Regions from separate parts of the Homo sapiens genome. Here regions 2, 3 and 4 are each linked to region 1. Evidence: promoter capture Hi-C in 16 types of primary human blood cells and fetal thymus (Javierre and others, 2016). All regions are on one chromosome and are shown on one strand. Each heading gives the region's core, a stretch centred on a gene start or on the middle of the fragment in contact. The rest is flanking DNA. Distances are from core to core; before and after follow the strand shown. Region 1 holds the start of ITK (IL2 inducible T cell kinase). Region 2 overlaps NIPAL4 (NIPA like domain containing 4). Region 3 has its middle 48 kb from the start of TIMD4. Region 4 has its middle 30 kb from the start of ADAM19.

Region 1 (7,101 bases), core at 3,528-6,027:
ACCTAGGCCTCCCAAAATGTTGGGATTGCAGGCGTGAGTCTCTGTGTCTGGCCTTGCTTAATTATTTTAAAAACATAGGCCAGGCGCGATGGCTCACATCTGTAATCCCAGCACTTTGGGAGGCCGAGGTGGGCAGACCATGAGGTCAGGAGTTCGAGACCAGCTGGCCAATATGGTGAAACCCCGTCTCTACTAAAAAAAAATACAAAAATTAGCCAAGCATGATGGCGCGCACCCGTAGTTCCAGCTACTCAAGAGGCTGAGGCAGAGGAATCACTTGAACCTGGGAGGCAGAGGTTGCAGTGAACCAAGGTGGCACCACTGTGCTCCAGCCTGGGTGACACAGCAAGACTCTGTCTAAAAAAAAAAAAAAAGATAGCTTTTTAGAGAATTGCACAGCATTATATAATTTATACAAAATCACACAGATCAAATGTGAGCTAGTTTTTGACCCAGATCTGTCTGATTCCAGAAGCAGTGTTTGTGATCACTAGCAGTAATGCTTTCAAAAGCAAGGAAAGGGGACCATCTCCCCACCTACCATCTTTAATTTAGAAAGGATGCTTGCTGCAAGCAGGAGATGGTTCTGTTGCTAGATAAGACTGTAGGCTAAAGGGAAAAGGCCATGAGGAGTGGAGACCCTCACCCAGATGCTTACTGGAATGGTGATCTTGACTGTTTCTCTTGTTCCATGTAAATGATAATGCCTCCCACATCATAAGGAGCACAGCACACTTGATCCCTAAGGGGCAAAGAGTCATCAAAATAGGAGAACCTTTCCAGTTCTCCAGAGGGGCTTTCAGAAGACCAAGGTGGTGCTTGGGCAAAATTGTGAGTAATAATCACCTTACCATGTAGCAATTGGTAAAAAGCTTATAACATACTTTTCTCATGAAATACTCAACATCACTTGAAGTAGGTAGTGTTGGGGTCCTTACTTTACAAATAGGACACAGGCAGAAAGAGGTCAAGTGTCTGGTCTGAGATCCCACATCTAGAAAGTGGCCACGTGAGCCACACCAATCTATGATGCTTTATTCCCATTTAGGCTGCCTCTTCCATCCTGTGCTTACTCAAAGTGCCTGAGGCTCTCCATTTTCCCTTTACCGCTGAAAAGGATCCGATATCAGTCACATGCAACTAAGTATGCTGTTTAGTTGGTGGCTACCTCTCCAAGGATCATTTGTACTTAGGCTTGCCGACGGTGTGCTGGACTCGGCTTGTACTGGCCCGAGGTAGCTAATTGTTAAGTTTTCAGGAATCTGTGAGCCAGCAGACATCACATTGGTAGTTTAAAATGGGCCATGATGGGAATATTTACACCAAAGGAATTGGCAAACACTATGAATCAGGGCTCTCCAACAAGCCCTGTACTCGGATTCCTAAGCATTTACCAGGACATCCATGTGCCCTTATCTCTCATTGTCCTCTGTCATAGAATTTCAGGCATCAGGGACAACTTGGAAAAAAATTGACAGGCACAGGAGAGCCTCTGAAATCATGTCTGTCTGCAAGCTACCACCTGCCAAATCTATGCTTCTTTCTGGCCCACTGCTCCAGCAAGATGAAGGCGCTTCTTGGCCCCTCTGAAAACACTTGCACATCTCAACAGGAAAAACAGGCATCGAACACCAGAACTAAAACCATGTTAAAGTAAAACCTCAATCAATTAGTATTATAATGACAATAGGCATGATTTTTTAGGTTAGAATAAACATACTTGATTTCTAGAATTACAGAATATGTTCTTGAGTATGTAGAAGGGTTATTTTTCATATGGTGTTATAAATTCATAGAATATGAGAACTGCAAGAATCATAATTTTACACATGAGAAAAGAGAAAAAGAAGCTCTGACACCCGACACCCTAAGAGGGGCAATAACTGGCCAAACAGCTCATAATGCATGTATATCTACCCCACAAAACTTATATTTAGCCACAGAATAGAAGGAATCCAGGACCCTGATCTTAGCTTGACTTTGAAGAATCCTTGAATATCTCCCATAATTTGAAAATGAATTGTTATGACAGCCTGCTAGCTTCTGTAGAGACATGAAAGGGATACAAATAATGGTTAATTTTTACTAGATGCTTACCAGATGACAGGGCCTATGCTAAGTACCTAATATATTAAGTTGAATTGTTTGAAACTTCTAATATCTGATATTCGATCTGCCAAATAATTTCAAAAAGTTCAGCCTAAAGACATTATACCTCTGAGTCTTTGCCATCTTCCTATGAAATGGGTACTATTATCACACCCATTTTACAGATTGAAAATGAAGCCTTTAATTTAAAAATGAAAATGTTCTTCCCATAAGTGTAATGTTATTTACTTATGAGTAATATTAATGCAGCCTTGTGTGCAAATTGGTGGCCTGAAACCATGTAGTATACCTAAGACATGAACAATAATAATTCACATATATTACCTTTTTCAGGGAACTTGGATAAATTTCTAATTAATAAACTTCTATAATAATTAAATAATTAAAGAAATACTTTTAAAATGTTATTTATAAGAGTAAAAAAGGCATTAGAAAACAAGAAATTTGATGTTTGGACATGTATTCTCTATATCTCACATGGAAGAATTAGAAACTGTAGCCTAGGGCTCCCCAGAATGAAGTAATTGTCTTGAAATTTTCCATAATGCTCAGATAAAGAAGTAGGGTGATTTTACAACCTTGTCTACATGCAAATTATGACCAATAATATTCTGAATTAAGGCCATCTGGTTTTGTGATTACTTACAAATAATATTGAGCTGAATTCACAATCAGTTCACAAATAGCAGTTGGGCTAAGGAATTATTAATACTAACTAAATGAGATGATACTATGTTGAATCAGAAAAACGAACTGGTGAAAACTGCAAAATGGACTTTGAAAAAAATATTTAAAGGTACATGACTGTTCTTTCAATATGAAACAAAAACTTTAAATGTTCCATTCACAAAAAAGCATTGAGTAATGCCATGCGATTTATTAGCTCTACATGATAAATCCCCCAAGTTCACAAACTGGGCTCCTGGCCACCTAGCAAAGAGGACTTGCACGTAATTCCATGTGTTTTCTGATTGACTGGTAAATTGTTATCAGTAAGAGTCTGATAATAAGACAAGCAATTCTTTTCACTTCTAAAGAGGCAGAGCTATTTCGCCTGCAACTTTTTTGTTTTCTGTATTTTTTTAATTCACAAAAGACATGCAACACCTGCAACTTTAAAAAGTGAGGCATCCATAGGCTCTATACCCAGCCTGACCTCCTCTGGAGCTCCATCTCATGAAGTGCTTTAAACCCTGGCACACCAAAGAATCCCAAACTCATGCCACCACCTACTAAGTCAGACTCCAACAAAGAACTGGAGCACTTTTGTTTCTAAGTGACCATCAGGCACCTAATATTATTTTCCCTTCAGTAAAATATAAGTGATAATCCTTGTCCTACCCCACTAATGATGTAAAAATAATATAACCATACAGTAAGAAATCAAACATGCTTTGAAAAATTGCAGCATAGGGCTAAACAAGAGCCACTGCATAAAGCAAAGAAGTTTTGAAGAAGAAAGGGATCTTGAAGGTTGTTATTTCCAGTTTTTTCATTTTATGAAGAAAGAACCTGAAACAGGAGGTAGACATTTGCCCAGACTGGATCACCTACTGAGAAGTAGAGTTTGGTCTCCTGACCCTTTGTCCAATGCTTTTTCTACCAAACTACATTATTAGGATTATTCCTGTTGCTTTTGTTATTAGTGATGTTAAGAAGCACAAGACTATTTTTAGATAAAGAGATAGACTGACCTAGCAAAGCAGCCATACTCCTTCTGGGTAAGAACCGCTGGTCTGCACTGCAGAAACTTTGTTCTTAATAACCCTGGTGTCCTAAGAAGTCTATCAAGAGATGAAGAGGTTTGCCATTGTGCCTTACAACTTTTAGATAATTAAATGCCTGGGAAATCTTATTTCAAGATCAGGCTAGCGACGAGTATTGAGACAAACAGAGTTATTCATGAAAACGTTAACACTGAACCCAAAACTTAACCATTCTAAACACCAGTTTCTTCCACTAAAAAATAAGAAAGCTGGGGTAGATCATCCCATTGAATGCTAGTGTTGTATTAATCTATGTTTCATTAAATTTAGTATGTTTCATTAAATTTAGTATGTTTCATAGAAAGTTCAAGTTTTATCGAATCATAATACTTGCTACCTAAAATGTTATTCATAATTTAAAAACCAAACATAACCTTGCAGGGGGAAAAAGCTGATGAATGTTAAATTTACAGTTTTTAGAACTGAAATCACCTAGCACCACCATTTCACCTCTTGACTGCTCTCTGCATTCTCCTCTGATTACTTTTACTGTACTTTTTATGTTGTTACAATAAGCATGTTTGTGTTTCCTGTGCTCTATTTTATGCTATGTATATATTTTTGCATTAGCCCAGTCCAAACATAAAATGCTATGCGAAAAAAGACAAATGAAACTGCTCACATACCCCATGACGATCTTCAAAGTATGCCAGGCTGGCTTTGGTTAACACAAAGAAGCGGACTTTAAAGTTCGAGGGAGAAGTTCTTCTCTTTTGTTGGGATTTCTTGATGAGCTGTTCTTCCAGGAGGATAAAGTTGTTCATGATCCAGTTCTTGAAAGGTGGTGCACCTTGGGCATCACCTCTTAGCACAACCAAAGGAAAGAGTTTTGGGGCAAAGAATGCAATGTGGAGGCAGTTGATCTTCAGAGAGCTGCTCAAGGGCAACTTGCCTTCAACGTTATCTTTCTATCAACGTTCAGCCAACATAGCTGAGCTTCTCCTCTGATGTCAAAGGCCGAAACCACATCCTTTCAAAATTCACAAAACGAGGAGGCATATGTAAAAAATACATACAGCCTTTGCTAATGGCTTGAAATGATATTTGAAAAACTGTAAACTCAAAATTGTGGTAAGGATTACAGTTTAATCTTTATAGTTCCTGGTTTAATCCATCCAGCAGTTAAATCATGTAGCACAAGGAGTAAGGACAATGTGTGGTTTTGCTTACCATGATATACTCAGCAACCATCACAGTACCTGACACATAAAACAGATGTTCAAGAAAAATTTGTTGAATGGATCATCACCAAATTGGGTTGGACAATTAAAAGAGGTAATGAGCACAAAACCCTCACACATTAAAGTGAAGAAATATGTTGCTGAAGTTTATTAGTTTTTAAGATTTAAATTAAAGCCCATAGAAATTTCTCAATGCTACATATAGATGACTGCCTTTCTGTCCTGACGTTTTGTGGAAGAGTGAAAAATAAGTGAATCCTTCAGAATGGCATAATAAACAAAGTATATGTGGGCTTTGAAAACAGACAAACTTGTGTTGGATTCCCAGCTCTGTCACTTACTATGCTGTTTCTCTTTGAGCAAGCCATGACTTCTCTGATCCTTAGCTTCCTTGTGAGGGTCCTTTGGAGGACTGAATCCCATACATCTTATGAATGGTAGGTGCTAGTCATACATGTCACCTTAGAGTTAGTACATAGTTGAAGTATAATGTGTGACAGTTACCTCTACTATGTTAATAATCAAGAGATTTTAGTGTAAGCAGATATTGCATGTAGTGGGTAGGGATAAATAATAAATGAAATAATAATTATTGCTGTATAGGAGTGAAATTCTCCAATGTTTATTTTTAAATGTAAATTACCAGACAACAGCCTAATTTTATTTCATATACTGGATGCCCCAGCATAATCAAGACACCCAGGAGGGTACGGTACTGGTATATTTTAAATTACCTCCCCCATTCTGAGATTCTTAAGACATATGTGTGGAAATACACTGCCCAAACAAGATAGTATTTTTTTTTTCTGAGTATGGGCTTGAGGTAGGGATTGCTACTATTCCCAAATAGCTACTCTCTCCTTCTTACTAGAGTAACAGAATCCCTGACAGTTATCTGGGCATCTGGCCAGCAAGAATAAAGACTACAAATTTTAGCCTCCCTTGTAGCTAGGTGTAGTTGTATGACTGTCTTCTGGTCAACTGAATGTAGCAGAAGTCGTGTGCACAACTTCTAGGAAATTTCCTTAGTGGGATCTGTCATCCCCTTTTCTTTCCCTTTTCCTCCTGCCTTGTGACTAGAATATTGAGGTAACAGTTGGAGCTGAAGCAGCTATCTAGTATCATGAGGTGGAAATTGAATGTTGAGGACAATGGAGTATAAGATAGAAAGAGCCTGGGACCCTGGTGACCATGGATCTTCCATGCCAGCCCTGGATTACATTTTTTAATATCTATTTTCTAAGTCTCAGTTATTTTGAGGTTTCTGTCACTACCAGCAAACCTAGATAATACAGTGCTATCTTCTCAAACTAGACTACAAACTCCTCTGAGGAAAGTACATTTTACACCTGCTTGGTTCAGATGAAAAGAGTTATAGACTTCACAAAGTGTTCTCATCCGGGAAAACAAAATATCATCAGTAGCTGTTGCAATACTTAGGAGTCTTTCGTTTGCTCAGTCTACATGGAGTGTCATCGTAAGTAATTTTATTCTCTTTCTCATAGAGCCATCAAACCCACTAACTGAGACTCATCTTTGCCAACTTTTAAATGCAAACTTAGGAGGCTCAATATTTTTTTCTCACTTTAAGGAAAACATAAACAAAAACAAATAGTCCCTTTGTTTGTTTTGGTTTTAAAAAGTTCACTTCATAGGAGCCAAATTCAAGGAGTTCCCACTTGCCAAAGATGGAACAATTTGAGTATCAAAAGGAATAATAATTGCCATGAATTGAAGAACAGCAAAAATGTTAAAACAATGAGTTCAAAAGAGAATTGAAAAAAGCATCCCAACCTTTTGATCACTTTTGGAGGATGCTGAAGAACCAACTTGTTTTTCTGAAAACTGGAAACAAAGGAAAAAAATAAAACATATTGCTTGCTTTTCTTGAAGAATTATCTTTCAATTCAGTGATCAAGTATTTAATGAGGAAGTTCTTTTTTTCCAAGAAACTAATCAATGAAGGAGTGACAGAATACTATCGTTTTGCAATGCCAATGAAATAATAAATGTAGGCAATGATCATCAATGGCTGTTAAAATTAT
Region 2 (7,715 bases), core at 5,022-7,521, 290 kb before region 1:
AAGGAAGGGTCAAGCCAGCCACTGCTGTGGCCCTGCCCAGGGCTTGGTTGAGGGAACGGCTTCTGGCTGTATGGCTGCATGTGACAAGCCACGTCCCCTCCCACCTCTCCCCAAACCCCTGCATCCCTGTATTCACACGGGTCACTCTGACTCAGACAGGTACTATTCGTAGGCAGTGTAGACAGCAGGAGGAGCACCGGGCTTGGGCTTCCTCTGAGCCGTGATGCCAAAGGTTGCGACTCCTGACTCTGGATAATTTTTAGTTGCTCTTTGTTTTCTCTGCCGCACTTTCCTGGTGCCCCACGCTTTTCTCTCTTCCTTCCCCTCTCATTCTCCCTCTAATGTGTGGTGCTTTGGTGAGCAAACCCTCAGCAGTCCTGACCTTCGGGTGACCAGGTGCTTGTGACCTACAAGTCAGAGTCCTCTCTCACAGTCGGCCACTGGATTTCCCTCACTGGCTCTCAGGAGTGTGACCAGAGTAGACTTGGGGCATGGCCATTGGGGTCATATGTTTATTTTTCATTGTGTTTTGTGACCTCAGCAGGGTGGGGGTCTTCCTCCTTACTCTAAGCTAAATCTAGGTGAGGTTTCCCCTTAGGGAGCCCAGCTATTTACAAAGTACACACGAGGGAGCAGGCTGGTCATTGACTTCGGGCTGGACCGTTGCCCTCTGAGCAGAGAACAGACCCATTTCTGGGAGCTGCCCGAGATCACTGGAGAAGGCAGCCAGCAGCAGCTGCACTGGAACAGTCAGAGCAGGGAGCCTCTTCCTCAACCCAGCTTTTTGTCATTCACTTCCTTTTGTTCTCTCTCTGGTCACTGCCCTTACCTGACCCTCACAGAAAGAGAGCTCTGAGCAGGTGAGGGGGTCTGCGGTGGCTCCTGTCTTCCCTGCAGCAGGGAAGGAGGGCCGTGTGGTGCTTTGCTAGATAGGACGGTTTTTGCAAAGCACCTGGAGATGTTTGCTGGGAGATAGACTCCCACTCCACAAAGGTGCTGGGTGGCTCTCCGGACAGGAGCTGGCCTGACTCTCACTCCTCTGAGGCTTTCCTGGGGCCTCCTCCCATCCTGCCATGAGCAATTGTTTGCTCTTGAAAACCTCACTGCAAGGCTGAGGCTGAGCTTCTGATTCACCACCCCAGGGCCTCCTTATAGTTCTCTGCACACAATAGGTGCTTCTTGGATGTTCTTGGGTTTGGAAATAAGTGGAAAATACGGGATGTACCCCTGGGGGAAAAGCCTGGGTTGGGTTTAGAAAGATCTCAGGAAAATGAGTTTCTCTTCCCTCAGGGTGGCTGTGATACAGGTTCCCCATGTCCTTGCCGTGGGTCATCCTTGCTGTGGGTCATCCTTGCTGTGGAGATCCATTCCCCACCTTTCCTGTGGCCCAACCTTTTATTTAAATGTGCTACCCTCTGCCTCAAGGCTTGGTTCCTGGAAAGTAAAGGTGAAAACATCCCCTTTCACCCCTCTGCAAAACAAACAAGCAACATCCTCAAAACCCAACCCCATGCCTCACAGAGCTTCCTGTGGCTTCTCCAGCCTTTCTCCCTCACATCAGGAGGTAGATAGCTCTGAAATGACAGCGCCACAGCCATAGTGACTGCATGAGCCATCTGAACCTGCAGTCCACCCTCCCTGGAACCACACCAGAAAGAGACCTGGGTTGTCGTTTTCTTGCTTTTTGTTTTGTTTTGTTTTATTATTTTCATATCACCTCCATCCCATAAAGTTGTACTGTGAACTGGAAGATGGTGGAATGTTTTGGAATTTGATAGACTTTCGGCAACCAGTTCTACTAATGCTTCACTCCTGGCTCTGTTCAGGGAGGCTGCCCAGGAGGAAGACTGGCCATTATGCATCCCCTTTTCTTTCCAGTGCCCAGTATGCTGTTTTGAGGTGTCAAATACAAATAAATCTGGGCTTAGGGAAGGAGAGACCTTATTCCAAAGCACGATTGCAGAAGGGGAAAGGGAATATTGCAAAAGGGAGAGGAAGGGGCCTTATGGGAATAGTGAAAAGGCTCAGACCGACCGATGGCAAGATCTGCAAGCGTCTCAAAGCCCAGGCAGAAAAGGACTTTTCTTTTATTGGAAGAAGTAAACATGGCTAGAAAGAACCACGTTCAGGGAATGACGTTGTGCCCAGCCTTTTTTTTTTTTTTTTTTTTTTTGTCTCCAGGGGAGGGGCTGTTTGCTGGCTCAGGCTGAGGATGGCCCAAAGTCCAGGGTCTGGTGGGGAGGAGGGAAGCTTAACTCAAGTTTGGGTTAGTGAGTTAGCAAGCTCTTTGTGCAGATGGGGATGTAGGTAAATCTTTTTAAAAGTGAAATTAACCTCCTGCCAATTTTACAACCCAAGAATTTTTTTTTAAGGGCCTTGGAGCCATCTCTAAAACAAACCTCAAGGGATTTAGTGCCCTGTCTCCCTGTCTCTAGAAGCCTTAGCCTGGGCACCTGGCTCAATCTTGTAACTGCCTGCTAGCCATAGATTCCTTTCAGCCTTGCTGACTTCTCCCTATAAAAGTAAAGCCTTTTTCTGCCCCAGCTCTGAGACACTTGCAGATCTTAAGGTCTGAGACTTGCTGATTTTCTGGTTGGAGTGTTTTTTTGTATTGCCATAGTCCCTTCCCCCTGAAGCAATAGCCCCTCCCCACCTCCTGCAATACGCCTTTCCAATCTTTATTGGAAGTCTCTCCCTGCCTACTTCCTAATTTATTCTTATTTGACAGAGGGTATGGAAGACTTGCAATTTGAAAACTGGGGACCAGTTCCAAAGTCAGTAATTGTGTTAACCACGTGTATAACAGCTCTGCTGGACACCCAAGAAAGCCATGGGAACGCCAACTGGAAAGGTCCCCTTCCCCAGGGGAGCCTGCGAAGGAGAGGTTCTGTAGAATCCAAGCCCACATTTCCAAAGTCACCCCCAACGCGTCCTCTCACACCGTCCACTGTGCGTTTGTATGTGTCTGGGATCCAGGGCAATGTGAATTTTCTTTTTATTTGGGAGATTGTTCACGGAAAACAGATCTTCTTCTCTCTTGTCCACCTATTAATTGTTTACAATATTTGTACATCTATGCAAAATACTTGAATGGGCCATGGTGCCTTTTTTCCTTGTTAGTATTTAATTAAAAATGAATTGTTTGTCATTTGCAATGTTATCTGGTTTGGCAGCTCTTTATTGTGTGTTTGTTGTAATGTCCTACTGCTCAGATTAGATAGGATTCATGACGTGGACTTCAGAAAGAGTTCCCACAAGGATGGTCAGTTCAGCCTATAAAGCCTTCATGGTGGACCCTGAGCCACAGCAAAGCCTATGTTTTCCTATGACCAGTAGAGGGGGCTGTTTGTCTTTACACCTGGACGCAGGCTGCTTATTAAAGGCCTGAATGATCCTGAGATTCTTCGATATGTTTTTTCTCATCCTACACTACTGCATATAGAAGACAGCTGAGAGCCTCTGCTCACCTCCTCATCTTATTAAGGCAAGGGATCATACTTTAAAGAGGGGAGACACTTGCCCCAGGTCTCTTGGGCTGGGTAGGCAGGCACAGCCAGGGATAAGGTTGGGTGTGCTTTCTGATTCCAGAACCCTGCGTGATATCACAGCTCGTATTCATTAGTGCTTCCCAGTCCATAAAAGGATCCCACCCTTATTCTCTCATTGATCCCTACCTCAATTTTGAGGTTCTCTCAGAGAGATGGAGGATTAATAACCATGATCGAAGGTAACAGTTACTCAGTACAGTCGGCCCCCCATATCCGTGGGTTTCAAATTCATGGATTCAACCAACAGCAGGTTGAAATATTTGAAAAAAAAAAAAGTACAACCATAAAAAGTAATACAATTTAAAAATACGGTATAACAACGATTTACACAGCGTTTACATTGTATTAGGTATTATAGAAATCTGGAGATGATTTAAAGTATATGGGAGGATATATGTAGGTTATATGCAAATACTATACCATTTTATATAAGGGACTTGGCCATCCTTAGATTTTGTTATCCATGGGGGTCCTGGAACCAATCCCCTGCAGATACCAAGGAACAGCTGTATTTAACATACGTGAGCCACTCACTGCATGCTGTTTACAAATAAGGATTATCTCGTTTAATCTTCACAAAAACCCTGAGAGAGGCTTCTTGCTCTCTGATTTTACTTTTTTTTTTTTTTTTTAAGACGGAGTCTCTCTCTGTCACCCAGGCTGGGGTGCAGTGGTGCAATCTCAGCTCACTGCAACCTCCGCCTCCCGGGCTCAAGCAATTCTCATGCCTCAGCCTCCTGAGTAGCTGGGATTACAGGTGCCCACCACCACGCCTAATTTTTGTATTTTTAGTAGAGATGACCTCAAGTGATCCATTCGCCTCAGCCTCCTGAAGTGTTGGGATTACAGGCGTGAGCCACCGCACCCAGCCTGATTATATTTTTCTAACCTCTCATGGTTATGAGGTTGCCTATGGACCCTAAAGACATCTAAACACAAATGCTTTCACTACTAACATGCCTGCTCATGAAATTGCTTCCCACTCACACATCCCTACCTGGTTAAGAGGCCACTCTTCCCCTGCTGTCAGCCAGTCTCTGGGGTGATGCTCACGTGTTGGTCACTAGCATAATGGAGAAAGCCTGGTTGGGCAGACCCTGGTTGAAGTCCTCACTCTGCTTGCTACTCAATAGATAAGTGGGCCTGGATAAGTTCCAGATTTCTGAGTCTCTTCACTATACAAATAATATACCTGCCTCAAAAGTGTCGTGATCATCAATGAAATTCTGTATGTGCAAGTCCCCAACAGGGCCTGTCGCAGGCTATGTGCTGAGAAACTGCTGACTACATCAGTTTACAGTTGCTTTGCTTAACATGCAGAGTTCTATTAGGATCTGCCTTGCATTGAGTGCTGGTCCCCAGGAGAGTTTGGGCAAGGAAGGACTGTGATATTGTTCCTTCAATCTTTTCTTTTTCTTTTATTCTTTTAGTGCGTATGATGTGCTAGGCACTGAGGATAAGCAGTAAATCAAAGCCAACTCTCATGAAGCTTATATCCAGATGGGGAAAGAGCACAGATCACAAGAAAATAAATGAATAAAGTAGTAGCAGATTATGCACAAGGCACAGTGGCTCAGGCCTAAAATCTCAGCATTTTGGGAGGCCAAGGTGGGAAGATCACTTTAGGAAAGGAGTTTTGAGACCAGCCTGGGTAACATAGCAAGGCCTCATTTTTACCAAATCTGAGCCTGGGAGTTTGAAGCTGTAGTGAGCTAGGATCACACCACTGCCCTCCAGCCTGGGGGACAGAGCCAGACCCTGTCTCAAAACACAAAAAACCAAAACAGATTATGCAACTGGGGGCAAGGTTAGTCTTGGAGAGACACATTACGCCTGGTGGTTAAACCAGATATCAGCTTTGCTCTTCCTGGCTGGGTGACCTTGGGCAATTATATAAATGGGAATAAAAACGTATCTAACTTGAGGATTTGTGAGGAGTTAAAGAGAATTCACAGGAAGCACCTACTATGCCTGGTGCCTGGTAAGGGCTCAGGTGTTAACTAGGGATGAGTTGTCTTCAACTGACTCTATTTCTGAAACTATCTTTCCCACTCTACCAAGGGTGTTAACTACCACAGACACGGTAGGGGCTTTATTGGCAGTCGCATTCATTCAGAGATTGGAGACTGTCCTTCCAGCCCTAGAAAAACCAGTTTAATCACTCCATGCTCAAGGAAGGTCAAGACACAAGTATCAAGTAAATATAATCTGTAATCTTTATTCTTGACCCTGCAGACCACACTCTTAGGGCCCTCAGTTTACTGCCATTCTCAAGAGCCAACTTGTTGCATTGCTTTTAATTACAGACAGAAATCCACATTCATCAAAAACTGGGGATTTGAGGCTGAAGAGTCAGGGAGCCAGTCTGCTGGTCAGCCAAACCTTGGAGTTCCAAGGCCAGCAGGAATTTACCTGGGCTTGGCCCACTTAGGGCACAGGATATAAACACAGAGTGCAGGTAGAGTCACACAGGGGAGGCCCTGCACCAACCTCGGGGCTGAGGATCAAGTCTTCCCTCTTTCCAGATACACCAGCCCACTAATTTCCCTTTCTAATGGTTCTTCTCCAACCCCCACACTCTTGTGGCTAGAAAGGAGATAGGAAGGGAAGGAATAGTAATTATCTCCCTCTCCAGCTGCTCTGGTTTTTTGTATGCCTCTGGCCAAATGTGAGGGGACCAAAGGTACTCCCCATAGCAGGTGGTGTTGGAACAGTCAGGGCATGCTGCTTCCCAGTGTGGGCAGCTCATCAGTGGAGGAGGGGACTCGGTAGCAATCTGGTCAACAGCTAGAATGCACCCCATGCCAAGTCTGCACCTCCAGTTGGCCATTGAGATTCACAGCTGTCCAAGCCTTTAAGGCTGCAACCCAGAAATTACCCCTGAGCTCGTTTCTCCTAAGTTCCCAGATGAGCACCAGAGTCAACACAAAAGTTAGCCCCTAGTATCCAGAGAGCCTGGGACTGCCTTCTGCCAAATCCCAACTTTGCTCCTCATCCTCTTCCCACCTCCCCAGATCATAGGTTGGTTGACTCCTTGAGGAATAGTAAAGTGCGTTCTGCCAAATTCTAGCTTGGCAGCCAGGCCACTTTGAAGCAGTGAATTTGCTGTTCTTCTTTCAGAGTAAGACAAAATGCAACACTGGGTTTGGCCACCAGAGTTTGGCTGTGGCTCTATTATTGTTTTGTTTCCAGTTCTGCGATTACTGCCTTTATGTCTCAGTGACCGACTCCTTAGGATGTAAGTAGAGGGGGAAGGGGTGATGGTGGGATGGACTGGGTGGATGCCGAGGTGCTGACTGCCAGGCTGGAGTGCTCGGGGAATGAGCTGGTTGAAATTTTTCCCTGAGACATCAAGTGGCTTTCACAGTAAGAAGGTCAGCTGAGGTCTTGCTTCTGCCTCCAAAGAGGAAGTGACAAAGGCAACAGGATATTTTACACTGGTTGTGTCCCTGTCAGCTCTGGATAGGGAGGCATGGCCAATTGCTCTGTGGGCCTCTGGGAGCCAGCTCTATGTCATCCTTGGGCTAGAAAACAACAACAACAACAACAACGGAGATTCCGTCTCAGGAGGAGAATTGGTGTGAAGGAACTTCCAATGACCAATATCTTAGAGAAGTCCTTGGACTGTGCTACATTCAGTGGGTCAGACTCCATCTTCTTCCCAACGGCATAGAGATGGCACCGAAAGAATGAATGAGAAGGAAGGTCCAGGGAACCTGCAGGCACTGATGTAAACTTGGGTATTTGGTCACTGAATCTGTTTCCAGGAAGTTCTGCCACCATTGCTATTTGGGTAAAGATTTTTCTCCTGGAAACAGTGATGAGGTATAAATGAACTTCTCAAGAAAAGAGAGCCCATTGGTAACAGTTGCACTGGAAAATAACCAGGTGGTTTTGAAATTGGGAGGGCAGGCTGTACCATCGGACTCATCCTCTCACTCACATATTCCAAGCTTCAGGAATGGATTATAAATACTTTGGGTTTCTCTTCTGGTGATGAGGTGCTGGCAAGTTCTATATTGTCCACAAGGACGTTCTTGTCTTCCAGTCTAATAACAGTGGGTTCCGGGGCGGGAGAAGGGGGTGGGTTTTTGTGCATGTGGGGCAAGCTGGCGCAGCTGATGTCCAGGTCTTTGAAAGCATGCAGCATGAACACGCCCAAGATGA
Region 3 (7,694 bases), core at 3,754-6,253, 270 kb after region 1:
ACTGTGACTCACTTCTTTATTTTCTTTCTTGAGACGGAGTCTTGCTCTGTTGCCCAGGCTGGAGTGCAATGGACAATCTCTGCTCACTGCAACCTCCGCCTCCCGGGTTCAAGCGATTCTCCTGCCTAAGCCTCCTGATTGAGCAGCTGGGCTTACAGGTGCATGCCACCATGACCACCAATTTTTGTATTTTTAGTAGAGATGGGGTTTCACTGTATTGGCCAGGTGGGTCTCTAGCTCCTGACCTCAGGTAATCTGCCTGCCTCAGCCTCCCCGAGTGCTGGGATTACAGGCTTGGGCCACTGCACTTGGCCAACATTGACTCACTTCTAAAACTCCTAAATTTTCTATTATTTTCTTTTCACATTTGAGTGTCTTTAGAGGTGACCATAGTGTCACATCCTAGTTCTTGCTTGGGGAATTTAATTTTGGAAACAGGGAAGAGTCCGTGGGAGTAAAATGTGGTGAATGACAGGAATATTCAACCAGGGGCAGTGCGTGGATGTGAAAGCAAGGCAATCCAAATAAGTTTCTCTAAATATAATCTTGGAAATGTGCTCCTCAGCAACAACAGGTTTATTTTAAAACTTTAATAACTGCTAACACGAGGAGCCATGGGAGAGAGATTAAAGCAAACAGTTGTTGAATGAATGTATAAAAAACATGTGTGCCTGAGTGAGAGGGGCTTCTGGCTGGGTAGAAATGTGGAAAGTAAACCAGATCTGAAAGACATTTCTGTGAAGGACTTCCCAGCATGTTTACAGCAATAGCAACATTAATGGAATAAGTACGTGGTTCTCTAAATGTAGCCATCTTTGGATTTCAACTCTCTTGACATTACATTTAAGAGAGAAAAAAGTCAGTCTAATTACTTGACTGGTGAAGCCTATAGATTTTTTTGTCCTATTAGTTCACACAACACTGATCCAACAGTTAGTAAAAATCCCCCTCACCTGGGTACTTGGAAAAACTGGCCCAAGGCAGCCTGACTTCTGACTTGTTCAGTTGCAGTTGGGCAGAATGATTGGCACCAATGATGAAAACAATTAGCAGCAGATTGGCAGCTGTTTCTTTTCTTTTTCTCTTCTCTTTTCTTTTCTCGTCTTTTCGAGACGGAGTTTTGCTGTTGTTGCCCAGGCTGGAGTGCAATTGCATGATCTTGGCTAACTGCAACCTCTGCCTGGTGGGTTCAAACGATTCTCCTGCCTCAGCCTCCCAAGCAGCTGGGATTACAGGCGCCCGCCACCACACCTGGCTAATTTTTTATATTTTTAGTAGAGATGGGTTTTGCCATGTTGGCCAGACTGGTCTCGAGCTCCTGACCTTAGGTGATCTGCCTGCCTTGGCCTCCCAAAGTTCTGGGATTACAGGCGTGAGCCACTGTGCCTGGCCCTTTTTTTAAAAAAAAAATTTTTTTTTTTTTTTGGTCAACTTGGCTTTGATGTCAGCTTAAGATACTTAAAGTGACTTTGTCTAGTGTGCTAAACTCAAACATTTATTTAGAAACGTTGGGGAAGTGGGTCTAGAGCCAGGTTCAGGGCCTGAATTTCCCCATCTAGAAAATGGAGTGGGGCCAGATGGCTTTGTGTATGTAGTCAGGTTATAGTATCTTGTGAGGTAATGATACACCCAACCCTAACTTAGCTCATGCTCCCTATCCACCTTCCAAAACCACCGCCATTATCAATGTCACTACCAGCTTGGGTCTGACTAGAAAAAGAAGACGACAGACACTTCCTAAACAGAACATTTAAACTCAATGAATATTACTTTTCTGTTTTGCAAAGGGGTATTTTCAATCGATTCCCAAATGTATTTCTGAAACTCCTTGTACCGACTAAGAAACACTAACATGAGCAATCATAGTATTTTAGAGCTCGTAATGGCCTCCAGGAGCCTCTGTCCTAGTAGTTCTCAATGTTAGCTGAATAATCAACTGGGGAGCTTTTTAAATGCCAATTCCTGAGTCCTACCCTTTAAGAGATTCTTTCTGTAATTGGTCCAGGGTATGACTTGGGCATCTGAATTTTTGAAAAATGTCCCAAAGTGGTTCTAATATGGAACCAAGTTCTGAAAAATGCTGGTCTAGCCCGGTGGCTCTCAAACTATGCACTTCAGACCAGCAGCCTCCGTGTCACTGGTACTTGATAGAAATGCAGATTCATGTCCTTCACCCCATACCTCCAGAATCAGAAACTCTGGGGGTAGAGTCTAGCAAACTGTGTTTTAACAGACCCTCCAGATGATTCTGATGTGCGTTAGAGTTTGAGAAATGTTGCACTGTAGTAATTCCTAACAGATAAAGTGTTCAAGAAAACAATCTCCCTTTACCAGGGCTGTGTGGTGGTGGGCTTGGCCAGACAGAGGGTCAGGAGCTTCCAGTACCAGGGGCAAAGGTCCTGCTGCTTCATCTCCTTTAAGCTGATAGCACTTTCTGGCTGGATTCCTGCAGTATCTTCCTAATTATAATCTCTGACTTTACTCCTTTTCCTGTCTGTTCTCCATGCTGTGGCAGAGATACCCTCTTTCAATACAGGTATGGGTCTCCTGTCTCCTGTCTTCCAGCCCTTTTCATCCTTGGCCCCTAGACCTACCTAGAAGCAGCACACTTAGCTCTGCCTGGGGCAGAGGTGGCAAACTCTGATGAATTTAGAGGCCAGGCAGCTGATACAGTTGAGGGAGTCAAAGGGAGATGACATGGCCCATGATAAATCGGAGTGTATGTCCACTTAAGGGCATTAAAATTTAAAATTAGTTAAAATGATTTCCTGGGCAAGCAAAACATGGCTGTGGGCTAAAACAAGGTAGCCAGTTTGAGACTGGGGATAAAGGGTGGATTTTAGTAAAAGATGAATTAAAATAAATATATAATTCTTATACTGAGACTCCTTGATCAGAGGAGGCTGTGGATGTAGTTGCTCCTCTCATTCCCTCTTTGTGTAATCAGGATGAATTGTTAGCATCTATAAATAACTTTTTGGTATCTATTGTATGTGGGGCCCAGGAGAGAGAATTGCTTCTTTTAAGGAGCTTCACTTCTGAATGAGACAAAACACACATGGGAAATGCAATAGAATAGGCCGGGTGCAGTGGCTCACACCTGTAATCCCAGCACTTTGGGAGGCCGAGGTGGCACATCACTTGAGGCCAGGAGTTTGAGACCAGCCTGGCCAACATGGCGAAACCCTGTCTCTACCCAAAATACAAAAATTAGCTAAGCTTGGTGGCAGGTGCCTGTAATTCCAGCTACTCGGGAGGCTGAGGCAGGAAAATCGGTTGAACCTGGGAGGAGGAGGTTGCAGTGAGCCGAGATCGCACCATTGCACTCCAGCCTGGGAAACGGATTAAGACTGTGTCTGTCTCAAAAAACAAACAAACAAACAAAAAGGTAATGCAATCGAATGGAATCAATGTTGTTTTTCCATTTCCATAAGGAAGGAATGTGATGCAGTATGTGCTTCTTACAGCTAATGATTATATGGTGGATCCACAATCAAACCTCACAATTTAAAGCAGGAGTTTCCAATCTTTTGGCTTCCCTGGGCCACACTGGAAGTAAAGGAATTATCTTGGGCCACACATAAAATACGCGAACACTAATTATAACTAATAAGCTAAAAAAATCGCAAAAAAAATCTCATAATGTTTAAGAAAGTTTACCAATTTGTATTGGGCCACATTCAAAGCCATCCTGGGCCGCATGCAAGCTCAATTTAAAGCAACCTAATTCCTCACCATGGCCTTTCTAGGCTAAACACAGGAGATACTATCAATTTGTAATGAGCACCTATTATATTCTGGGTACTCTATTAACTGTTTCAAGGCAATTATCTCATTGACTCCTGACAGCAGCTCAATAAAGCGGGTATATTATTTTGGCTTTGGAGCTAAGAAAACAGAAGCACAGGCAGGTGAAGGAACTTGCTCAAGGTCACGTCGTCCAATCTCCTGTAGCAGAGCCAGGTTTTGAACCAGGCTTGAAGGACTCCACACTCTAACCACTACCCTGTACTTCACAGTGAGGGCTCCAATTCCAGACTTCATGCATATGGCTCTGTAACACTGACCTGCATTGGACTCAAATGGATTTCAGTGTCCTCTGATCCACAGCAACCTGAGTATATCAATGGCTTTCCAGTTACAACCCCATTATAGCTCAATCTTCCCTTGTCCCCATATTATTTACTCAGAATCTGATTTGCATTTGCAGAGGAAGCTGTAAAGGGAGAACCTGGCAGGAAACTTAATGAAGCCAGGTGGGACACATTTAAATGGGAATGTGTTGAACTAACTCATGAAGAGCTAAAGCCAGCTGTCAGCAGGCTTAATGAAAGGTTAACAGGAATCCAGCAATGGGTGGCTGGGGAGACTCTTTGTCTCTCTAAAGAAAACAGGAAGTTGAGAAGTGGGCTCCCTGGGTGGAGGTGAGAGCAGAAGGAGGAAGCCACTCAAAACCGAAAGACTGGGTCTGGAAATAGAGCTTCATTTAGATTTGTAAATATGTTACAGCCTTAAAAAAAAAAAGCACTGTGAGTTCTCAGCTCTCTGAGCATCAAAGGACAGTGAAGGGAAGTGTTCCCGAATAAGATGAATGCTAATGCTATCCAGAGGGAGTTTGGGGAGCACTGGAAATGGCTGCTCGCAAAACAGAAGGTGGATTTGCTGCTTGTGCTGAAAAGGTGCTATTGTGCGGTTATATGCATTATCCATACTGTATGTGAAATAATGGGGTGGGAGCACAGCAAAGACTCGCACACATCTGTCAGTTTCACTCCCATTTTCAGCCAAGGAAACTGAGGCTCAGAAAGGGGGCATGAGTTGCCCAGGTCCCACAGTTAACCAGTGCTAGAGCAAAGCACTAAACTGTGTTTTCTAGACTTGTCTCTGTGGCTAAGATTCTGGAGTTTTCACAGAATCTGCCCTGTTATTGCCCTTCTGGAGTCATGTAATTAAGTTCTTGTTGGTGTGGCCATGCAATTCAGCGTTCCTTTTCCGTAAGCCATCTATCTTAGCACACCCCTGGCTTTATAGTGGGCTGCTGCCCCCAGGAAGAGGAATCAGAATGCAAAAAGCGCACAGCTTGGCTGCTCTGCTGCTCTCCTAGCAGCACCATAACTATGGTGACCAACTTGTCTCAATTTGCTCTGGGCTTTCTTGGTTTTAAAACTCAAAGTCCCACATGCCAGGAACCCCTCAGTCCTGGGCAAACTGGTGTAATCACCCAATAGGTTCTTCCTGTGCCATCTGCACAGACAAAACCAGTTCATTGAGAACACGGCATTGCAGTAGAGAAAAAGTTTAATGGACATGACGCCAGCCACATGGGAAATAGAGTTATTATACAAATCAATCTCCCCAAAGGCTTGAAGGTTAGGGTTTTTATGGACAGTTTGGAGAGCAGGGGTCTAGGGAAAGGGTGCTGCTGATAAATTGGGGATGAAATCATAGGGGTGTGGAACACTTCTTTGTGTGCTGAGTCCAACTCTGGGTGGGGCCACAGGACCGGGTGAATCATGAGTCACAAGGCCGGGTGGGATCTGTTGAAAAAATATTTCAAAAAACCAATCTTAGTTTCTACAGTAGTGATGTTACCTAGATGAGCAACTGGGGAAGTCGCAAACCTTGTGATCTCTGGCCATATGACTCCTGAGCAATAAGGGATTGTGGAAACTATGGGGTCAAAATATGTCAGTTATGCAAAATGGGGTCGACTGTGTCAGATTTCTCTCATCGTTATAATTTTGCAAAGATGGCTTCTCTTGGATGGTTGGTCAACCTAAGTCTATAAACTAGAGATCAAAAACAACCATCCTCTCAGTTCTCTCACTCACAGCCCCTGCTCTTGACTTTATTGCAGTGATCACTTTTCCTGTGACTTTGCAGTTGAACCCAAATGGAATTTAGTTTGTTCAGATCCGCTGTTAGAATAGACTACTACTAGATCTACATTTTATATCTAGACCCTTGCTATTCGAAGTGTGAGATTCAGACCAGCAGTTTTGTCATCACCTGGGAGCATATTAGAAATGCAGAATCCCAGGCCCTACCATAGATCCTATGAATCAGAATTCACCTTGTAACATCTAGGATCTCTAGGTCACTCATGTGCACATTAAAGTTTGAGAAGTCCTGGTCTAAAGCATTGATTTTCAAACTCAGCTGCACACTGGAATCACATGGAGAAACTTAAAAAATACTGATGCCTGATCCATAGATCAAAACATCACCTTGTACCCCATAAATATACACAATTATTGTCAATTAAAAATAAATTTAGGCAAGATGCTGTGGCCCACGCCTGTAATCCCAGCACTTTGGGAGGCCGAGGAGGGTGGATCACCTGAGGTCAGGAATTCGAGACCAGCCTGGCCAACATGGTGAAACCCCACCTCTACTAAAAATACAAAAATTAGCTATGCATGGTGGTAGGCGCCTGCAATCCCAGGTACTCGGGAGGCTGAGGCAGGAAAATCACTTGAAGCTGGGATGTGGAGGTTGCAGTGAGCCAGGATCACGCCATTGCACTCCAGCCTGGGTGACAAGAGCGAAACTCCATCTCAAAAAGTAAAATAATAAAATAAATAAATAATTAAAACATTTTTAAAAATACTGATGCCTGGCTCCCATCTGAGGTCCTGATTTGATTCACAACGAGGAGACATGGGCATCAGTTTTTAAAGCACTTCAGGTGATTTGAATATACAGCAATGTTTGCAAACTTCAGCCCTAGAGAGGGGGTAGCTTTGCACCAGAAAATAATGTTTCTAATTAATCAGAACAAAGCTTGGCCTAAGTTTGTGTGGCTCTACTAACCCCATGTGATTTTGCATATGGAAATCATCAATATCGCTCAAGAAGATCTGAGGCATAAAGATAATGACCAATTACTCTGGAAGAGGCCCCCTAAAGTAGTTACAAACCAAGATATAATATTTAGTCTATGGAAAGTGATAATAAGACAAAAGATAATCAGAGAAGGAATGTCCTTAGGGTCGGGGTGGCACTATGAATCTCTTCAGAAGACACTAGAAAGATGTCTTGACACCAAGATTGTAAGAGAAAAGTGGGAGATTGGTTAAGTGGTAATCTTTGTTGCACAATAAGGAACTTGGTAAAAAGGCAACTATATTTTCTTTTGTACTTAGATATAATGGGAGATCTTCTGTAGGGAACAAGCAGTCATTCATTGTCTCAGTAAGACTGTATTCTTTTGCAAGTAAGAGAATACGAAAAAATAATGATTTAATTAGCAAAGACTTTGAATCATTTCACATAACTAGAGTTGGGACTTAGGAGTGTTGTAGGATTGGGTTCAGCAGCTTCACAAGAATGAGGTGTTAGTCAGGTCTCTGTGTCTTCATTGGCACTTCTCTCCTGGTCACAGGATGGCTGCCACAGCTCTGATATGTCCTCCCACAAAAGCATCCCAAGTAGAAAGAAAGCCCTGGCAACACAGCAAGACCCCATCTCTACAAAAATTTTTTTAAAAAATTAGCTGTGGATGGTGGCATGTACCTGCTCACTTAGCTACTCAGGAGGCTAAGGCAGAAGGATTCCTTGAGCCCAGGATTTTGAGGCTGTATTGAGCTGATTGCACCACTGCACTCCAGCCTGGGCAACAGAGCAAGATCCTTTCTCAAAAAAAAAAAAAAAAAAAGAAAAGAAAAGCCAAGTAGGAAGAAAGGAAGCAGGTG
Region 4 (6,696 bases), core at 2,380-4,879, 420 kb before region 1:
CTTATTCCATCTAGTGCTTTCTCCCCGAAGGAGAAGGGGAAGGGGGCTCGGGGTTGATGGCTGCCTGCCTGCGTGCTGTGAGCCTAGATTCTTAAGGAAGTGAGGTGGGGCACGTGAGTCTGGAGGAGGAGAAAGGCCATGAGGTTTTTTATGGAGAACTCAGAACCAAGTCAGCAATGATCTGTCCTGGGCTCCAGGCCCTCTCTCCATGCTCCGTGGCAGCCCTGTTCCCGTTAGGCCCGTGGTCAAATTTCTAATAGGGGATCTGAGAAGCAATTGGCCAGCCTCTCCGAGCGCGCCTGAAAGGTCTTCGCAAAGCTGAGAGCGATTTTACAAACTAATGTGTTTCTGAAGGTGCCCTGTCCTTTCTCACTTCCATGTTTCTCCCACAGCATACCTGGTAGCAGGCCCTCTTCCTGCCACGTGCTTGTGGAACAGTTCATTACGTTTCAAAGCTACTTCTGTAAAAATCATTTTTTGAGGTACAATCGACATATATTAATATATCTCCATTTTAAGTGCACATACAACTTGATAATTTTTTTTTTTTTTTTTTTGAGACAGTCTCACTCGGTCACCCAGGCTGGAGTGCAGTGGCTCAATCTCGGCTCACTGCAACCTCCGTCTCTAGGGTTCAAGAGATTCTCCTGCCCCAGCCTCCCAAGTAGCTGGGACTACAAGTGCCCACCACCGACCCAGCTAATTTTTGTATTTTTAGTGGAAACGGGGTCTCGCCATGTTGGCCAGGCTGGTCTCGAACTACTGATCTGAAGTGATCTGCCCATCTCAGCCTCCCAAAGTGCTGGGATTACAGGCATGAACCACTGCCCCCCGCCACAACTTGGTGAATGTTGACAAACGTCTGCACCTGCCCCAATCAAAATTTAGAACATTTCCATTCCCTCAGAAGTCTCCTGCCACCTCCAGCCAGTCCCCTCTCTCACCCCAGCCCCAGGCAACCACAGATCTTCCTGTCAGTATAGCTTAGTTTTGCCTTTTCCGGCAGTTTCACATACGTTGACTCATAGAGTTGTTTCTGGTTTCCTTCACTCAATATAAAGAAAGGAATCATCAATGTTGTTGCATATATTAATAGTTTTCATATTACTGGGTAATAAACTATTGTGTGGATGTACCACAATCTATCTGGAATTTGAGTTATTGCCAGTTTTCGATTGCTATGAATACAGTTGCTATGCACATTCATGCACAAATCTTTTTGTGGGCATATAGCATATAGGAAGTATGTGGCCTTTCTGGGTCATTCTCATGTCTCTAGCAGACATTGTTAGTGGGTCACAGAGCTCTCAATTTCTATCAGACATTCCTTCTCATCACAGAGGTAGTCTGGGCAGTCCCTGGCAGTGATAAGGAGTTTGTACTGAAGACAAACGTCGTTTGCCATCCCTGACCTAGCCCAACCCATACATCTGCTTTCCACAGATGGAAAACAGGGCCAGAGATGGGAAGAACCTGGCCAGTGTCACAGAGTGAATCAGTGAACTTGTGAGAAGCTAAATAAAGGGCTTAGGTGATTCATTTCTCTCAGGCTAGTAAATACCTAGGAGTTGAATTGCTGGGTCATAGGGTAAGGGATAAATAAACTGCCAAACTGTTTTCTAAAGCTGAATATTCTTCTAAGTGATATCTCACAGTGGCCTTACTTTACAATTCCGTGATAACTAATAATGTTGAACATTTTTCATGTATTTGCTGGCCATTTATATATCATCTTTTTTGAAGGGTTTGTTCAAATCTTCTTCTTCTTTTTTTTTTTTTTTTTTTGTGAGTTGCCTTCTTTCATTGAATTTTAAGAGTTCTTTATGTATGTTGGGTACAAGTCCTTTATCTAATATTTGCATTGCAAATATTTTCTTCCAGACTGTGGCCTGCCTTTTCAGTTTCTTAATAGTACCTTTCAAAGTACAGGCAATTTTTAAATTTTAATGAAGTCTAATTTATCTTTTTTTTCTCTCTCTTATGGTTTATACTTTTGTGTCCTGTCCAGGAAATCTTTGTCTACCATAAGACTGTAGTTTGTGAACATTTTCTCCTATTTTTTTTCTAGAAGTTTTATAGTTTTAGCCTTTACTTTGTCAACCTAAAATAATAAAATTTAGAAAATATGATTAAATGTAGAGTTTTTTTGAGCACAAAGCTTGAGGACAGCCACCCAGGAAGCACAAATTTGAAAGATGGAATTGTACTGTTGTGCTCTGAAGTGCAGAAGTTTGGGGTGGTTTACATAGACAAAGTTTAGGAGAAAAAATCAGAATTTTAACTTTTTTTATACAAGGCTTTTTTTTTTTTTTTTTCCTGAGACAGACTTTCATTCTGCAACCTAGGCTGGAATGCAGTGGCACCATCAGCGTTCACTACAGGCTCGACCTCCTGAGATCAGGTGATCCTCCCACCTCAGTCTGCTGAGTAGCTGGGACTGCAGGTGTGTGCCATCATACCCAGTCAATTTTTTATAGACACAGGGCTTCGCCGTGTTGCCCAGGCTGGCCTTAAACTCCTGGGCTCCAGTGATTATCCCACCTTGGTTTCCCAAAGTGCTAGGATTCCTGCTGTGAGCCACCATGCCCGGCCTTATGTAAGGCTTAATGCATAATTACAATGGTCTGATTGGTGAAGGTCATCTTTTTCTTTCAGGAAAGATATACTGAACATTCCATACTGAAGATGAAACAGTCATGAGGTCTTTTGCGCCATCTGGTTTGAGTTAGGTACAGAATAATGCAGGAGACAATCTATAACAAAGGTCAGTGATTAGAAGGGGAGGACATCTGGTCTCTGGTCTCTCCCAGTCATTTATAGCACAAGAACAATGAGAAAAGAGAGTTGATCTATAATCTAAGAAGCAGAAGTTGCAACTACATGCTAAGTGACTCAGATCACCAGTTCTCTCTCAAGGTTTAAAGTCTTTTTGGAAGCCAGGTGTGGTGGCACATACCTATAATCCCAGCATGCTGGAAAGCCAAGGTGGGCTGATTGCTTGTGCTCAGGAACTCAAGACCAGCCTGGGCAACATGGCGAAACCCTGTCTCTACAAAAAAATACAAAAATTAGCCAGGTGTGGTGGTGCGCACCTATAGTCCCAGCTACTCGGAGGCTGAGGTGGGACTTTGCCAGAAAAAAAAAGTGCTTTGGGGGTTCCAACAGCTTTTGAATGTATTTATGTTCACAACTTTTGTCTCTATTATTTATTTCAAATTAATTTTTGTGTATGATGTGAGCTAAAGGTCGAAGTTCATTTTTTTCATATGGCTGTCCAGTTCTTTCAGTACCGTTTATTGAAAAGATCATTCTGAGCAGCAACATGGTGGTTGGCAAGAACAAGTACCTTACGAAAGACAGCAAAAAGGGAGCCAAGAAGTGGCTGATCCATTTTCTTTTTTTCTTTTTTCTTTTTTTTGAGACAGTCTTGCTCTATCCCCCTGGCTGGAATACAATGGTGTGATCTCAGCTCACTGCAACCTCCGCCTCCCGAGTTCAAGCAATTCTCATGCCTCAGCCTCCTGAGTAGCTGGGATTACAGGTGCCTGCTACCATGCCTGGCTAATTTTTTTTTTTTTTTTTTTTGAGATAGCGTCTCACTCTGTTGCTCAGGCTAGAGTGCAATGGCACGATCTCGGCTCACTGCAACCTCTGCCTCCCAGGTTCAAGCAATTATCCTGCCTCTGCCTCCCAAGTAGCTGGGATTACAGGCGTGTGCCACCACACACGGCTAAGTTTTTGTATCTTTAGTAGAGACGGGGGTTTCACCATGTTGGCCAGCCTGGTCTCAAATTCCTGACCTCAGGTGATTCACCCGCCATGGCCTCCCAAAATGCTGGGATTACAGGCTTAAGTCACTGCGCCCAGTCTAATTTTTCTATTTTTAGTAGAGACGGGGTTTCACCATCTTGGCCAGGCTGGTCTTGAACTCCTGACCTCAGGTGATCCACCTGCCTCGGCCTCCCAAAGTGCTAGGATTACAGGTGTGAGCCACCACCCCTGGCTGGTTGATCCATTTTCTAAGAAAGATTGGTACGATGTGAAAGCATGCTATGTTCAGTAGAAGAAATACTGGAAAGACACTGGTCACCAGGACCCAGGGAACCAAAATTGCACCTGGTAGTCTGAAGGGTCGTGTGTTTGAAGTGAGTCTTGCTGATTTGCAGAATGATGAAGTTGCATTTAGAAAATTCAAGCTGATTACTGAAGATGTTCAAGGCAAAAACTACCTAACTTCCAAGGCATGGATCTTACCTGTGACATGGGGGAGAGAGTGGAATTTAGCCTAAGTCAGCCTGGTCCCAAGGTTCCTTAATCTGGAACTCTAAGGCCTTTTTAGAATATTATCTTAATTGTCTGCTTGTCTGTTGAATGAAAAGGGATCCATGTAGGCCTCACGCCTGTAATCTCAGCACTTTTGGGAGGCCGAGGCAGGTGGATCACCTCAGGTCAGGAGCTCTTGACCAGCCTGGCCAACATGGTGAAACCCCGTCCCTACTAAAAATACAAAAAATTAGCCAGGCCTGGTGGCAGATGCCTATAATTCCAGCTACCCGGGAGGCTGAGGCAGGAGAATCGCTTGAACCCAGGAGACAGAGGTTGCAGTGAGCCGAGATCGCCCCACTGCACTCCAGCCTGGGCAACAAAAGTGAAATTCCGTCTCAAAAAAAAAAAAGAAGAAAGAAAGAAAGAAAGAAAGAAAGAAAGAAAGAAAGAAAGAAAGAAAGAAAGAGGCTCCATATAATTGGTATTGGAAATTTCTCCTCAGTCATCCGTAACTATCAAACTGTTAGTGCAATCCTGAACTAAAGGTCTTTAATTATGACTTTGTTCATCACAAAGGTTTCCGACTCTTTGAAAAAGACAGAACATCATTATTTCTTCCGACAAGTGCTTCTTCAAATGGGATCCCAATCCTTAAACCTTGCAGGAATATTGACATTGGGAGGAAGCCAGTGCTCAGCCCCAGTTAGTATTTCTCATCTTTAGGTAAACTTCTCCTTTTAAAGCTGTTTCCTGGGCTTTGCTTTTTACTTAGAGAACTTTGGTTACAGAGAACACATGGGAAGGGTTTTGCGACTGTACTAATCAATAAGCTTCAATAGGTGGGATGGAAATGATGGGCTTAAGTGGTCCCTGGAGACCCTCCGTGAGCCAAATGCACTTTCAAGATATCTACAACAGTGGCTTTTTTCCCGTCTCTGTGCCTGTGTCATTTACTATTCCTAGTTTTAAACCCATGTCTCTATTCAGAGAAAAAGACTACCTTGTGCGTTTGTTGCACTTTCTTTGAGATGAAATTTTTCCGGCCTTCAAAGAAAACCCTTTGATTTCCAGCCTCTGAGTCATAGTTTTCATATACTATTGAAATCACTCACAGTCTGTGAAAAAGGATGTGCGGTTATGGAGGAGAACTGTGGCCCAGGAAGTAGCATGAATCATTGAAATGTGGTGCATGGAGAACCACCCTCCATGGGCAGTAAATTCCCTCTACCCCCTTCCTCTGCCCTCAGCATCACCTCCCGCTGCCTGCTCCGGCAATTGGTCTAACATACAGGCTCATCAATATGTGTCTGAGTTAGTTGCCAACATCAATTGTTCGCACCTGTATAACTCTCTGTAGTTTGCAAATATTTTGAATCATTTATCGACATCTGCACCTGTTCATTCAGTAAATATGAATTTAGTAGTAACAGTAATATTATGGGCCCACCATGAGACAGTTCACCAGACATCAAACCTATGGTAATTATCAAGAGTTATAAGTCATGGTCACTGCCAAGATGGAGTTGGTAGTCTAGGGCGGGGATTTTTTTTAACATAATTCAGTGAAATTTAGTTGAATTGTAATGTAAAATGTATTTCCTACTGAGGATCACAGTCAAAAACATTGGAAACACACTGGTTTAGTGGAGGCTATTGTCAAAAGCCCCCAAATCCGTCCTCCTCATGGCCATCAGAGAGTCATAGAGTCTAGTGCAGGAGGCAGCCATATTATTACTATCATTGCTTGTAAAAGTGTTTGCCAGGCACTGTATTTTGCTGCAGAAGCAAAGGCAACCAAACACACATGTCCTCATCTTTATTTTGGGGGCTCCCCATGACCCTCAGAATGAAGGCTCAACACCTTCACCTGACCCAGAAGCCACATCCAGATCTCGCCTCTGACTATCTCTCTGGCTCCCTTCCCCATTGCTCATAACACTCCCCCTCTTCCTCTACAGATGCCCTCCTGACGCTAGCTGCCTGGAAACACCTCTCCGTCTTTGAACACTCAGCATGAGTATCACTTCCTCTGTGCCTTTGCCCCTCTCCTCCAGGCAAAACTAACTGCTTCATGCTTGGTCTCCCACAATTACCTTCCTCATCCCCCTTCTTCTGGCACCCTTTTTTGGGAAAAGGGGGAAGATCTTGCCGTCTCCCACCCCTTGCCACAGGGTGCTGACAACAGGCAGGGCTTGTAGCATAGGCTCCTGATTTTGGCCTAGAATGCCATATTCTGTCTTTTGTAATTGATCCAAGGATGGCATATAACCCAAGCAAGGCCAATCAAAGTCCATGAGCCAATATCTTCCCTTCTGTGTTAAGATGGTTTCCATTGGGTCTCTAAAGGGTCCTGAATATATAGTCTCTAATGTTACAGCATTCTTATTTGTCTACACCCTGTCTCCTATAAATTCCTTCAACACAGGGACT

What was found. The method cuts DNA at HindIII sites, captures the fragments that hold promoters and counts their contacts. A CHiCAGO score of 5 or more calls a contact.
Region 2: a fragment that was not itself captured here is called in contact with the fragment with the promoter of ITK in region 1 in 3 of 17 cell types (M0 macrophages, M2 macrophages and erythroblasts); the score reaches 5.7 in M0 macrophages.
Region 3: a fragment that was not itself captured here is called in contact with the fragment with the promoter of ITK in region 1 in 1 of 17 cell types (non-activated CD4 T cells); the score reaches 7.0 in non-activated CD4 T cells.
Region 4: a fragment that was not itself captured here is called in contact with the fragment with the promoter of ITK in region 1 in 1 of 17 cell types (activated CD4 T cells); the score reaches 5.4 in activated CD4 T cells.

The regions. Positions count from the first base shown.
Region 1 is chr5:157,178,516-157,185,616 of GRCh38, reverse strand. It overlaps ITK (IL2 inducible T cell kinase), which reads right to left and starts at 4,777. Exons shown (of 17, transcript NM_005546.4): 1 at 4,502-4,777. The coding sequence starts at 4,639. The HindIII fragment of the contact is 39,229 bases long and covers 875-7,101 here.
Region 2 is chr5:157,472,749-157,480,463 of GRCh38, reverse strand. It overlaps NIPAL4 (NIPA like domain containing 4), which reads right to left. Exons shown (of 6, transcript NM_001099287.2): 6 at 5,742-7,715. The coding sequence ends at 7,504. ADAM19 (ADAM metallopeptidase domain 19) reads left to right here. Exons shown (of 23, transcript NM_033274.5): 23 at 1-3,160. Among named protein-coding and RNA genes, the nearest start is that of NIPAL4, 16 kb to the right of the region's middle. RefSeq lists an enhancer at 1,027-1,537. The HindIII fragment of the contact is 2,464 bases long and covers 5,040-7,503 here.
Region 3 is chr5:156,910,933-156,918,626 of GRCh38, reverse strand. No RefSeq gene overlaps it. Among named protein-coding and RNA genes, the nearest start is that of TIMD4, 48 kb to the left of the region's middle. RefSeq lists enhancers at 3,874-4,819, 4,820-6,019. The HindIII fragment of the contact is 3,564 bases long and covers 3,222-6,785 here.
Region 4 is chr5:157,602,262-157,608,957 of GRCh38, reverse strand. No RefSeq gene overlaps it. Among named protein-coding and RNA genes, the nearest start is that of ADAM19, 30 kb to the right of the region's middle. RefSeq lists an enhancer at 6,346-6,505. The HindIII fragment of the contact is 2,938 bases long and covers 2,161-5,098 here.